Linked DNA regions of Homo sapiens: region 1 is linked to region 2. Evidence: promoter capture Hi-C in 16 types of primary human blood cells and fetal thymus (Javierre and others, 2016). All regions are on one chromosome and are shown on one strand. Each heading gives the region's core, a stretch centred on a gene start or on the middle of the fragment in contact. The rest is flanking DNA. Distances are from core to core; before and after follow the strand shown. Region 1 has its middle 6.0 kb from the start of CAMTA1-DT. Region 2 holds the start of TAS1R1 (taste 1 receptor member 1).

Region 1 (6,151 bases), core at 1,264-3,763, 220 kb before region 2:
GCCTCTTGAAGTGCACGGATTACAGGCATAAGCCACCACACCTGACTTCAGAACTATTTTTATAGCAATGATATGTCAATTTCTCCCAACACTGCACTCTGTGTGCAGTGTTTTCCAGAGGCTGCAAGATACGTGATCTCACAACAGGCTGAATGCAGAAGATTCAGAAGCAGAGAAGAATCCAGCAGTCTTCTACTGTCAGATATTAAAGTGATTTGCAAAACTAAAACAATCTCACACTTACCACTAATTTTATTTTAGAAAATGTAGGTATTTCTCATAAAAATAGGATTTATGTTGACATGTAATGGGTTTATTCTCTTTTTTGTTGTTCTTTTGAGATAGGGTCTCACTCTGTTGCCCAGGCTGGAGTGCCGTGCAATCAAGGCTCACTGCAGCTTTAACCTCCTGGGCTCAAGCAATTAGCCTCTTGAGTAGCTAGGAATACAGGTGGGCGCCACCATGCCCACCTGTATTTTTTGTAGAGATGAGGTTTTGCCACGTTGTCCGTGATGGTCTCCAACGGAGTCTTACTCTGTTGCCCAGGCTGGAGTGCAGTGGCACGATCTCGGCTCACTGAAACCTCTGCCTCCCGGGTTCAAGCGATTCTCCTGCCTCACCTCTTGAGTATCTGGGATTACAGGCACCCGCCACCATACCTGGCTAATTTTTGTATTTTTAGTAGAGACGGGGTTTCACCATGTTGGTCAGGCTGGTCTCAAACTCCTGACCTCGTTATCCGCTGGCGTCAGCCTCCCAAAGTGCTGGGATTACAGGCGTGAGCCACCGCGCCCAGCTTGAATCCTTAAATTTTAAGTGTGGAAAAAGATCTTGAGACTCAAGAGTTTGGGAACCACTGGGCTAGAGAATGAGATCTTTTTGGGGCTGGCTGGTTGGTGTTTCTGTTTGCTTGGGAGGGTAACCAAGAGATGGGCATTTCAAGTAAAGGAAGCAGCTTGCATTACTAAATGAGCCCATTTAGAAAAGAGAGTTGGAAGATAACGCTCGATGTACCAATCTCGGAATCCTTGCCCATTTTGGCCCTAATGTCCTTCAAGGAAAGAATTTTACTGTCCAGAAACAGAACATATAAGGGAAATAGTGGGAATATTAAATTGTTACTTTTTGACCCCAAAGAGGTGCAAAAGAGGCTTCTTCCTGGTCAGCTTTCCAAAGTAAAGTGGCTGTTTATATTACTGGTGGTGATAAAAATAAAAGTGCTTGGACTTGCTTCCTTAAATTGGAAGTTACCGAAGCTTCCATATTACTGGATTGGGAGAGGAAAGCATGGAGTAAACCCATTTCAGAAGCTTAAACACTTAGAAGCTCAGGCCGGGCACAGTGGCTCACACGTGTAATCCCAGCACTTTGGGAAGCCAAGGCGGGTGGATCACGAGGTTAGGAGTTCAAGACCAGCCTGGCCAAGATGGTGAAACCCCATCTCTAACTAAAAATAAAAATTTAGCTGGGCATGGTGGCACGCGCCTGTAATCCCAGTTACCGGGGAGGCTGAGGCAGGAGAATTGCTTAAACCTGGGAGGAGGAAGTTGCAGTGAGCCAAGATTATGCCACTGCACTCCAGCCTGGAAGACAAAGCGAGACTCCGTCTCAAAAAAATAAAAGAGAAGCTCATCATCCCAAGCTTATTTTACCCCTGCACAGGGCAACAAAAAACCTGTGCCTCCTTTAGCCACCAAGGGGCTGCATGGTTAAAAGTAATAATATTCAAAAGTTCCATTTCCAAAAAGTTTCTCCCCTTGTCTTTAACTATTTTTTTAATTTTGAGATAATTAGATTCACATGCAGTGATAAGAAATCATACAGAGAGCTCCTATGTCCCCTTACCTTTTCAAGATGAAACAATGAAAACTTGTGGACTTTGTTGGAACCAACCCTTCACCAGATGGTCCCTGTTTTCCTATCCTGCAAATGGTCACCTTTCCTCTTCTCTGCATCCCAATTACGTCAGGCATTATAATCTCAGAATGTCTACTGTTAATATGCAAGAGTAAAGATTTGTTGGATACCCCAAATATAATGAGATATTTGGGCCTAGTAGGCCTGAATTTCAACTTACTTGAAATATCGGCCAGGTGAGATGGCTCATGCCTGTAATCCCAACGCTTTGGGAGGTCGAGCTGGGCAAATCACTTGAGGCCAGGAGTTTAAGACCAGCCTGGGTAACATGGCAAAACCCTATCTCTACTAAAAATATAACAGTTAGCAAGGCGTGGTGGCGCATGCCTGTAGTCCCAGCTACTCAGGAGGTTCAGGTACAAGAATCGCTTGAACCCAGGAGGCAGAGGTTGCAGTGAGCCAAGATCCAGCCACTGCACTCCAGCCTGGGTGACAGAGCAGACGTCTGTCTCAAAAAATAAAAATAAAAAAATATCATTTGAACACGAAAGGGAAAGGCTTTGTGGCCCAGGAATCTGTTGAAATTTTGAAATGAATCTGTAGTTTCATTTGTTCAGTATTTACTGACAGCAGTAGGTCTGAGAACCAACCACACCACGAATGACAGTTTTGTTTTCCTTTTAGCAATTAAAACCTAGAACAGACCATTATCTTTTTTCATTGGGGTTTCAGGAGATATTATTTAAGCAATAGTTATAATCATAATACTTGCCCTCATCATCCAGCTATTACATAAAACACGCCCAAGTGCACTTGCTCTCCAGAGACCCTCCTTGGAGTGATACCTAAATGCCTTCAGTGGAATGTATCTCACCTTCATACACTACTTTTAAGAATCAGTCCAGTTTTTTCTGGACTTTCCCTTTGAAACTGGAGGCTTTCCACTCCCTCTTGAGCCTTCTGGTATTACAGCCTGATAGTTTTTATTGCATTTGAACCCATGATCAAAGAAATGGTTCTTTTCTTTTTGTTTTGGTTTTTCTTTGGTGGAAGGGGACAGAGTTTCACTCTGTCACCCAGGCTGAAGTGCAGTGGCACGATCTCGGCTCACTGCAACCTCTGCCTCATGGGTTCAAGAGATTCTCCTGCCTCAGCCTACCGAGTAGCTGGGACTACAGGCGTGTGCCACCACGCCCAGCTAATTTTTGTATTTTTAGTAGAGACGGGGTTTCACCATGTTGGGCAGGATGGTCTCGATCTCTTGACCTTGTAATCCTCCCACCTCGGCCTCCCAAAGTGCTCACCCCTCACAGGTGTGAGCCACCACGCCCGGCAGAAATGGATCTTTTCTAAAGGGAGAAAAGGTTGGAGAGATTGGGCTTTGCTGGTTCAGATGGACAAATACAAAGAACTTCCTGACCACGGACATTAATGCATTTCGTAGACCAGGATCACCCCTCTACTTCCTGAGACCCAGAGAGACCTCAGTAGTGGAACCCCCCGAAATCTCTGTATAGAGAAAGCTTGGGGCAGTAATCTGATTGGAGGGAGGGGCCAGGGGACTCTAGCATCTGCACAGCAAACCCACTTGCACTCCATGCAGCTTAGGGAGATTGTAAGACTGCTCAAGTCAAGTTTTGTTTTTTTGTTTTCTTATTTACGCCACACTTTCAAATGTAGTTTCTTTTGACTCTCAGTCTTCCCAGGAAACTTTGTTTAGTTGTTGAAAGTAAAATGACCTATCAAAGTGCCTGACGGGAAACGCTGCTGAGTTGTCCCATCATAGTCTTTGGAAACCACTGAGGAGCACCCAAGGAAAACCAGACCGCTACCATCTACGGGTATAAATGAAAAGGGTGTGGGCGCAGAGGCATTTCACCATCATTAGGCTTTCCATTTTTCAAACTGGACAAGCAATTTATTTTTTCTTTAAGTATTAAGCTGTGGGATATTATGCAGCCATTTAAAAAATGGAGGTATGGCCAGGTGCGGTGGCTCACGCCTGTAATCCCAACACTTTGGGACGTCAAGCCGAGCAGATCACTGGAGGTCAGGAGTTTGAGACCAGCCTGGCCAACATGGCAAAACCCCGTTTGTACTAAAAATGCAAAAATTAGCTGGCATGGTGACATGCACCTGCAATCCCAGCTACTCAGGAGGCTGAGGCACAATTGCTTGAACTGGAAGGCGGAAGTTGCAATGAACCGAGATCACACCACTGCACTCCAGCCTGCACTCCAGCCTGGGCAACAGAGCGAAACTGTCTTAAATTTAAAAAAAAAAGAAGTAAAGGTAACTCAGTGTGTGCTGCTATGAAAAGATCTCCAGCTTAAACGTCTAACTGAAAGAAGGTAAGCCACACAACATAATGTACATTATTTTCCTCTGGATGTGAAAAATGGATACAAGGTTTATTGTATATATATTCTTCTATATGCAGAAAAGATTTCCAGAAGGACAACAGGAAATCTATTACCTCTGAGGATGGAGCAGAAAAAAAAAACCCTTACTCTTCATTTGATATGGTTTAAATGTTTTTACCATATGCATCTATCCAACAAATAATTATTGGGTGCCTATGACATACCAGATACTAATTCTAGGTGCGGGGAATACAGCAGTGAACAAAACAGACAAAAATCTCTGCCTTTGTGGAGCTCATGTGGAGGTGGGAGAGACAAACAAATATACATTTGAACTTTAGATAATGATAAATGCTTGAAGAAAAATAATGTGAAAGGGTGAGATGATGAGAAGGTTTTTTTTGTTTGTTTTTTTTTGTTTTTTTTGTTTTGAGATGGAGTCTCGCTCTGTCACCCAGGCTGGAGTGCAGCGCACGATCTCAGCTCACTGCAACCTCCGCCTCCTGGGTTCAAGCGATTCTCCTGCCTCAGCTTCCTGAGTCACTGGGATTACAGGCGCACGCCACCACACCCGGCTAATTTTTTGTATTTTTAGTAGAGATGGGGTTTCACTATGTTGGCCAGGCTGGTCTCAAACTCCTGACCTCAGGTGATCCGCCCGCCTTGACCTCTCAAAGTGTTGGAATTACAGGCATAAGCCACCGTGCCCAGCCAAGAAGGCTATTTTAGAAGAGTGAGTCAGGAAGTTCTCTCCGAGACCTGAAGGAAGTGAGAGTGAGCCACGCGGTTATGGGTGGGGTGGCAGGTGCACAGTCAGTGTCCTGTAGGAACTGCAGGGAGGTGTGGAAGGACTGCTGACATGTGAATCCAGGGAGGAATCAGCAGGCCACACAGGACCTCCAACTCCATGGCAAAATATTTGGATTTAACTCTGAGGGTGCTAGGAAAACAATGTAAGGTATTTAGCTGGGAATGTTATCTCCCTGGTGTTTTAAAAGGATCGCTATGCCATAATGTGGAGGACAGACTTTAAGGAGGCCAGAGAAGCAGAGAGACTAGTTAGGACATTATTAGACATCAAGACTTGATGGTGGCTTAGATGAGGGGTCTTAGTTCCTTGTGGCTGCTGTAACAAATTACCTTAGTGGTTCCCTTACAGTTCTGGAGGCCAGAAGTTTGAAGTCAGTTTCACTGGGCCAAATGAAGATGTTGGCAGGGCCACACTCCTTCCAAAGGCTCTAGGGAGAATTCATTCCTTGCCTCTTCCAACTGCTAGTGGCTGCCGGCATTCCTTGGCTTGTAGCCACATCACTCCAATTTTCAAGGCTAGCATCTTCAAATCTCTCTCTGCTCCATCTTCACATTGCCCTCTCTCCCCTGTGTATGTGTCAGATCTCCCTCTGCCTCTCTCTAAAGAGGACACGTGATGGCATTTAGGGCCTACCAAGATAATCCAGGATAATCTTCCCATCTCAAGTCTCACTCTGATGTCCAGGCTGGAATGCAGTGGTGTGATCTCAGCTCACTGAAACCTCTGCCTCCTGGGTTCAAGCACTTCTCGTGCCCCAGCCTCCCGAGTAGCTGAGATTATAGGTGTGTGCCATCACGCCCAGCTAATTTTTGTAATTCTAGTAGAGAAGAGGTTTTGCCATGTTGGCCAGGCTGGTCTGGAACTCCTGGCCTCAAGCCATCTACCCAACTTGGCCTCCCAAAGTGCTGGGATTACAGGCGAGGGCTACCACGCCCAGCCCCATCTCAAGATTCTTAATCATGTCCGCAAAGACTTTTTCCTAAAAAGGGAATAGTTACAGGTTCCAGGGATTAGGACTTGGTATCTTATATGCCATTATTCAGCCCACCACATCAAGGGTGGTAAAGGACCAGATGGTAAATATTTTAAGTTTTGCAAACCCTATGGCCTCTGTCACAAC
Region 2 (5,999 bases), core at 3,307-5,806:
GTGCACCCACACGTCCAGCTCATTTTCGTACTTTTAGTAGAGACGGGGTTTCACACGTTGACCAGGCTGGTCTTGAACTCCTGACCTCAGGTGATCCATCCGCTTCGGCCCAGGTGATCCACCTGCTTCAGCCTCCCAAAGTACTAGGATTACAGGCGTGAACCACCTCGCCCGGCCAAAACCTCAGGCTTTTTTTTTTTTTTTGAGAGGGAGTCTCGCTCTGTCGCCCAGGCTGGAGTGCAATGGTGTGATCTCTGCTCACTGCAACCTCCACCTCCAAGGTTCAAGCAATTATCCTTCCTCAGCCTCCCAAGTAACCGGGATTACAGGCGCCTACCACCACGCCCAGCTAATTTTTTTGTATTTTAGTAGAGACAGGGTTTCACTGTGTTGCCCAGGCTGGTCTTGAACTGCTGAGCTCAGGCAATCCACCCACCTCAGCCTCCCAAAGTGCTTGGATTACAGGCGTGAGTCACTATGCCCAGCTCAGGTCTGTTGATTTAAATGTTTACTACATCTAAAAAATAGCTTCAGGCTAGGCACGGCGGCTCATGCCTGTAATCCCAGCACTTTGGGAGGCTGAGGTGGGTGGATCACTTGAGGCCAGAAGTTCGAGAGCAGCCTGGCCAACATAGTGAAACCCTGTCTTTATTAAAAGTACAAAAATTGGGGCCGGGCGTGGCGGCTCACGCCTGTAATCCCAGCACTTTGGGAGGCCGAGGCGGGTGGATCACGAGGTCAGGAGATTGAGACCATCCTGGCTAACATGGTGAAACCCCGTCTCTGCTAAAAAAATACAAAGAATTAGCTGGGCGTGGTGGCGGGCGCCTGTAGTCCCAGGTATTCCGGAGGCTGAGGCAGGAGAATGATGTGAAACCAGGAGGCGGAGCTTGCAGTGAGCCGAGATCGCGCCACTGCACTCCAGCCTGGGCGACAGAGCGAGACTCCATCTCAAAAAAAAAAAAAAAGTACAAAAATTAGCCGGGCATGCTGGCACATGTCTGTGATCCCAGCTACTTGGGAGGCTGAGGCAGGAGGATCGCCTGAATCTGGGAGGCAGAGGTTGCAGTGAGCCAAGATCGCAGCAGTTGGCTCCAGGCTGGATGACGGAGGGAGACTGTCTCAAAATATATATATTTTTTTTTAGACTGAGTCTCGCTGGAGACTCTAACCCAGGCTGGAGTGCACGATCTCGGCTCACTGCAACCTCTGCCACCCCGGTTCAAGTGATTCTTGTGCCTCAGCCTCCCAAGTAGCCAGGATTACAGGCACCAGCCACTAAGCCTGGCTAATTTTTGTATTTTTAGTAGAGGCGGGGTTTCACCATGTTGGCCAGGCTGGTCTGGAACTCCCAACCTCAAGTGATCTGCCTCCCTTGGCCTCCCAAAGTGCTGGGATGACAGGCATGAACCACCACGTTCGGCCAAAATAAATAAATTAAAAATACCTTCATGGCAACAGCTGGACTGATGTTTGACTACACAACTCTAGGCACTATAGCCTAGACAATCTGACACGCAAAATTCACCACCACGGCTCACACCTATAATCTTAGCACTCTGGGAGGCCTAGCACTGTGAGAGGACTGCTTGAGCTCAAGAATTTGAGACCAGCTTGGGCAATGTAGTGAGACCCTGTCTCTATAAAAAATTTAAAAAATTAGCGGTAAGTGGTGGCATATGCCTGTAGTTCCAGCTAGTAAGGAGGCTAGGGCCTCACTGAGGCCCAAGCAAAGCTGCAGTGAGCTATGATTGTACCACTGGACTCCAGTATGAGCAAAAGAGGAAGACCCTGTCTCAGAAAAAAAACAAAAACAAAAACAAAAACTAACCACTACACCTGCTTAACCTTGTTTAATTAGTGCTTCTCACCAGGACACTTATGAATGTGTTGAGGGCCTATATGCCTTATCACCCCTACTTCAGCAACTCCTGTCTGGAGCCCACCAGGAATGAGCCAGGGACAGGATTCAGCCCCGTTTAAAGAGCAGGCTAAGCCAGGTGCAGTGGCCCATGCCTGTAGTCCTAGCTACTCAGGAGGCTGAGGATGGAGGATTGCTTGATCCCAGGAGGTGGAGACTAGCCTGGACAACATAGTGAGATCCCAGCTCAAAAAAACTTTTTTGTAATGGCTGGCCCAGTGGCTCACCTAGAATCCCAATGCTGTGGGAGGCCCAGGCAGGAGAATCACTTGAGACCAGGAGTTTGAGACCAGCCTGAGCAACACAGTGAGACCACCTTCTCAACAAAAAATTAAAAAATTAGCCAGGAGTGGTGGTGCATGCCTGTAGTCCCAGCTACTTGGGAGGCTGGGGCAGGAGAATCACTTGAGCTTCAATGAGGCCCAAGTAAGGCTGCAGTGAGCTATGATTGCACCACTACACTCCAGCCTGGGGGAAAGAGCAAGACCTCATCTCTATAAATAAACAAATAAACAAACAAATACATAAAGTGTGCTAGCCTGTTCCATTTTCCAGCCTCTTGCTTGTTAGAAGGTCTTCCATGGTTTCTACCACTTCTGTCCCGAGTCTCTCAACGGAGGGTTCGTGCCTCCTGCCTGAGACAATTCTTCAGGTATCTGAAGCCGGTTTTCATGTCTTCCCTCCTCCTGCTCTACCCAATCTCTCTTCCCAGCCCATTCTCTTTATCTCTTTATCCAGGTTTCTAGCTGTAGCCCTTCGAGTAGGTCGTCATACACTAGATTTCCAGAAACTTCTTCCTGAGCCAACCATCTCGTGTGCTTCATGGGTAGGACATCCTGCAGCCAAGCCTCGGCAGCATTCTTGGGCCTCTGGGTCTGTGACTTCCACAGTCTGCAAGCAACTGTCTTCGTCTTTTTTTTTTTTTTTTTTTTTGAGATGGAGCCTCGCTCTGTCGCCCGGGTTGGAATGCAATGGTGTGATCTTGGCTCACTGCAACCTCCACCTCCGGGTTCATGCGATTCTCCTGCCTCAGGCTCCTGAGTAGCTGGGATTACAGGTGCACACCACCACACCCGGCTAATGTGTTGTATTTTATGTAGAGACAGGGTTTCACTATGTTGGCCAGACTGATCTTGAACTCCTGACCTCGTGATCCGCCTGTCTCAGCCTCCCAAAGTGCTGGGATTACAGGCGTGAGCCACTGTGCTCGGCTGCAACTGTCTTCTTTAAAAGAAAAGCAGGCCGGGCGCGGTGGCTCAAGCCTATAATCCTAGCACTTTGGGAGGCCGAGGTGGGCGGATCACCTGAGGTCGGGAGTTCGAGACCAGCCTGACCAACATGGTGAAACCCCTGTCTCTACGAAAAATACAAAAATTAGCTGGGTATGGTGACACATGCCTATAATTCCAGCTACTCCCGAGGCTAAGGCATGAGAATCACTTGAGCCCAGGAGGAGGAGGTTGCAGTGAGTCAAGATTATGCCACTGCACTCCAGCCTGGATGACAGACTGAGTCTCCATCTCAAAAAAATATAGATAGATAGATAGATAGATAGAAATAAAAGAAAAGCAGTAGTTTCCCTCTACCTAGATTGTTGACTTCATGATGGCACCAACCTAATTTATATTTGTCAAGCTCCTAAAGCATCTAATGGGATGTGTCTTCCCTTCCCACCCCATGAAGAACCATGGAGAATCCTACTTGTCATCTGGGACTCTAGGGAACTTTGAACATGGGTAGGAGTGGAGAGAAGATAGAAGAGGGAAAAAGCGGCTGGGCGCGGTGGCTCACGCCTGTAATCCCAGCACTTTGGGAGGCCGAGGTGGGCAGATCACGAGGTCAGGAGATCGAGACCATTCTGGCTAACACGGTGAAACCCCGTCTCTACTAAAAATACAAAACATTAGCTGGGCGCAGTGGCGGGTGCCTGTAGTCCCAGCTACTCGGGAGGCTGAGGCAGGAGAATGGCGTGAACCCGGAAGGCGGAGCTTGCAGTGAGCTGAGATCGCGCCACTGCAGTCCCACCTGGGTGAAAGAGCGAGACTCCGTCTCAAAAAAAAAAAAAAAAAAAAAAAGAAGAGGGAAAAAGCTGCCCTTGCTTAGGCCTGGCCACCTAGGTATGGTACAAAGCCAAGAACCAATTTCAATGAAGTTACAATACAACACATTCTAACAGCAAGGGTGAAATAATTGGAAACTGGCCGAAGTGTCTAGGAAGGTCTAGCCAGCACTTAGGTGGCAAGTGGATTGATGAACAAGGCCTGGGGACAGTTCAAGGGGCAAAGGCAGAGGCAAGGTCCTGTTTGGAGGATGGCAGCCAGAGGGGCCCTATAGCCAGGGGTCCCACTAAGTGTGGCTCTGCTGGCCCCTCACTCACCTGTCACACAGGGTCACCTCGGGTCTGTGCCTCACCTGCAGACAGCCAGAATGGAGAGGGAACAGGCCTGCCAGGAGGTAATCTCCGGGGAGGGTGAAGTCAGGAGAAGACTCCGTGCTATGGCAGGCAAAGGCCCAGCAGCAGGAAATGAGAAGCTGCAGGCCGACCAGGCGAGCCGTGCAGAGCAGCATGCTGGCCAGATGCCCGCGCCTGGCATGGCCAAGGAGTGGCCTCTAAGGAGGCCAGTTGCTTAAATAGAAGGCAGCTGCCGGATGCTTCCTAACTTCAGGCCCCCAAAAGGGGTGGGACTGGAGCCCAGTGGCTGAAGCAGGACTGTTTGCCTTGACATTCCGGGCCTGCGGTCCCACTCAGGAACTGGGCAGGACGAAGGCACAGATGCAAACCAGGTGGCACCCAGTGACCCTTCCTCTGGACGGTTGTGGGTTCTGTCCACGCTCTGTGACTTCACCTGGCTTAGAAAAGGAGCTCTGGCATTTTGGGGCGAGGTGGGAGGCTGGAACACAATTTCTCCGGGTGTTGCGAGGTTTCAGAACTTTTTACCTGGGCCTCAGTTTACTAAATGAGACACAGCTTTGAGTCGACACCCCCCTGCCCCAGTCTCCAGTTTTCTGACATTAAGATTCTGAGCAAATTGTCATATACTTTCGCCTTGTTACCCAGGGTTGCTCACTTCGAAACAAATGCATGCAAACCGAAGGTATGCAAATAGACATGTTTTGTTTAAACTGCCAATCCTAAAGCTTTTTCTGCAGGAGAAAAAAAATATCCCGGTGTTTTTCCGGAGAGGTGGCCCATGGCTGGTCGCGAGGTTTCTGGCTTTCTCTCTCCGGCCGGCTGGGGTAGGGAATTTGCGTAACGTAAATGGAGTCCTCCGTGGAGCCCCTCGACCAGATCGGCTGGAACCTCCTAGTGTGCTTCCGGAGGTTGCCGGCAGAGGGCGCCGGCGGCTCGGAGGCCCCTCTTTTCGGCAGCTGGGAGGGCAGCGGGGCGGACCGACGGGATCTCGCGAGATTCTCGCGCGGTAGGCCCTGAGGACCCAGCATGGCGGACTCGGGACTGCTGCTAAAGCGGGGTTCCTGCCGTTCCACTTGGCTGCGGGTCCGCAAGGCCCGGCCCCAGCTCATCCTCAGCCGCCGGCCCCGCCGCCGGCTCGGGAGCCTGCGCTGGTGCGGTCGGCGGCGCCTACGGTGGCGGTTACTGCAAGCCCAGGCGTCCGGCGTGGACTGGAGGGAGGGAGCCCGCCAGGTGTCGCGCGCGGCGGCGGCCCGGAGACCCAACACCGCGACCCCCAGCCCGATCCCTAGCCCGACCCCGGCCTCCGAACCCGAGTCCGAACCCGAACTCGAATCCGCCTCGAGTTGCCACCGGCCTCTCCTCATCCCACCGGTGCGGCCCGTGGGCCCCGGCCGCGCGTTGCTGCTGCTGCCGGTCGAGCAGGTAGGTGGGGGGCGCCGGTAGTAGTCCCCGAGGGCAGGGAGGGCTGGAGAGGCAGCCCCGGGAGAGCTGCAGGGTAGGAGAGGACCGTGGTCCCCCGGGCCTGTTCTCTGGCTGCCAGTCGGATTCAAGTCCATCCTCTTGATGGTTGGTGGCAACTAGGCTCCCCTGAGCAGCAGGGTAACAGGTACCCTGCTAAGGGGTCCCTAGGCCTTACGAGCTAAAGGGACTTTATTTTGTTTTGTT

What was found. Contacts are between HindIII fragments. The CHiCAGO score rates a contact against its expected background, and 5 or more counts as called.
Region 1: a fragment that was not itself captured here is called in contact with the fragment with the promoter of TAS1R1 in region 2 in 1 of 17 cell types (neutrophils); the score reaches 5.3 in neutrophils.

Annotation. Positions count from the first base shown.
Region 1 is chr1:6,775,936-6,782,086 of GRCh38, reverse strand. No RefSeq gene overlaps it. Among named protein-coding and RNA genes, the nearest start is that of CAMTA1-DT, 6.0 kb to the left of the region's middle. The HindIII fragment of the contact is 1,738 bases long and covers 1,645-3,382 here.
Region 2 is chr1:6,553,864-6,559,862 of GRCh38, reverse strand. It overlaps TAS1R1 (taste 1 receptor member 1), which reads right to left and starts at 4,556. Exons shown (of 6, transcript NM_138697.4): 1 at 4,299-4,556. The coding sequence starts at 4,489. NOL9 (nucleolar protein 9) reads left to right here and starts at 5,350. Exons shown (of 12, transcript NM_024654.5): 1 at 5,350-5,756. The coding sequence starts at 5,361. RefSeq lists a silencer at 5,385-5,644. The HindIII fragment of the contact is 19,423 bases long and covers 1-5,061 here.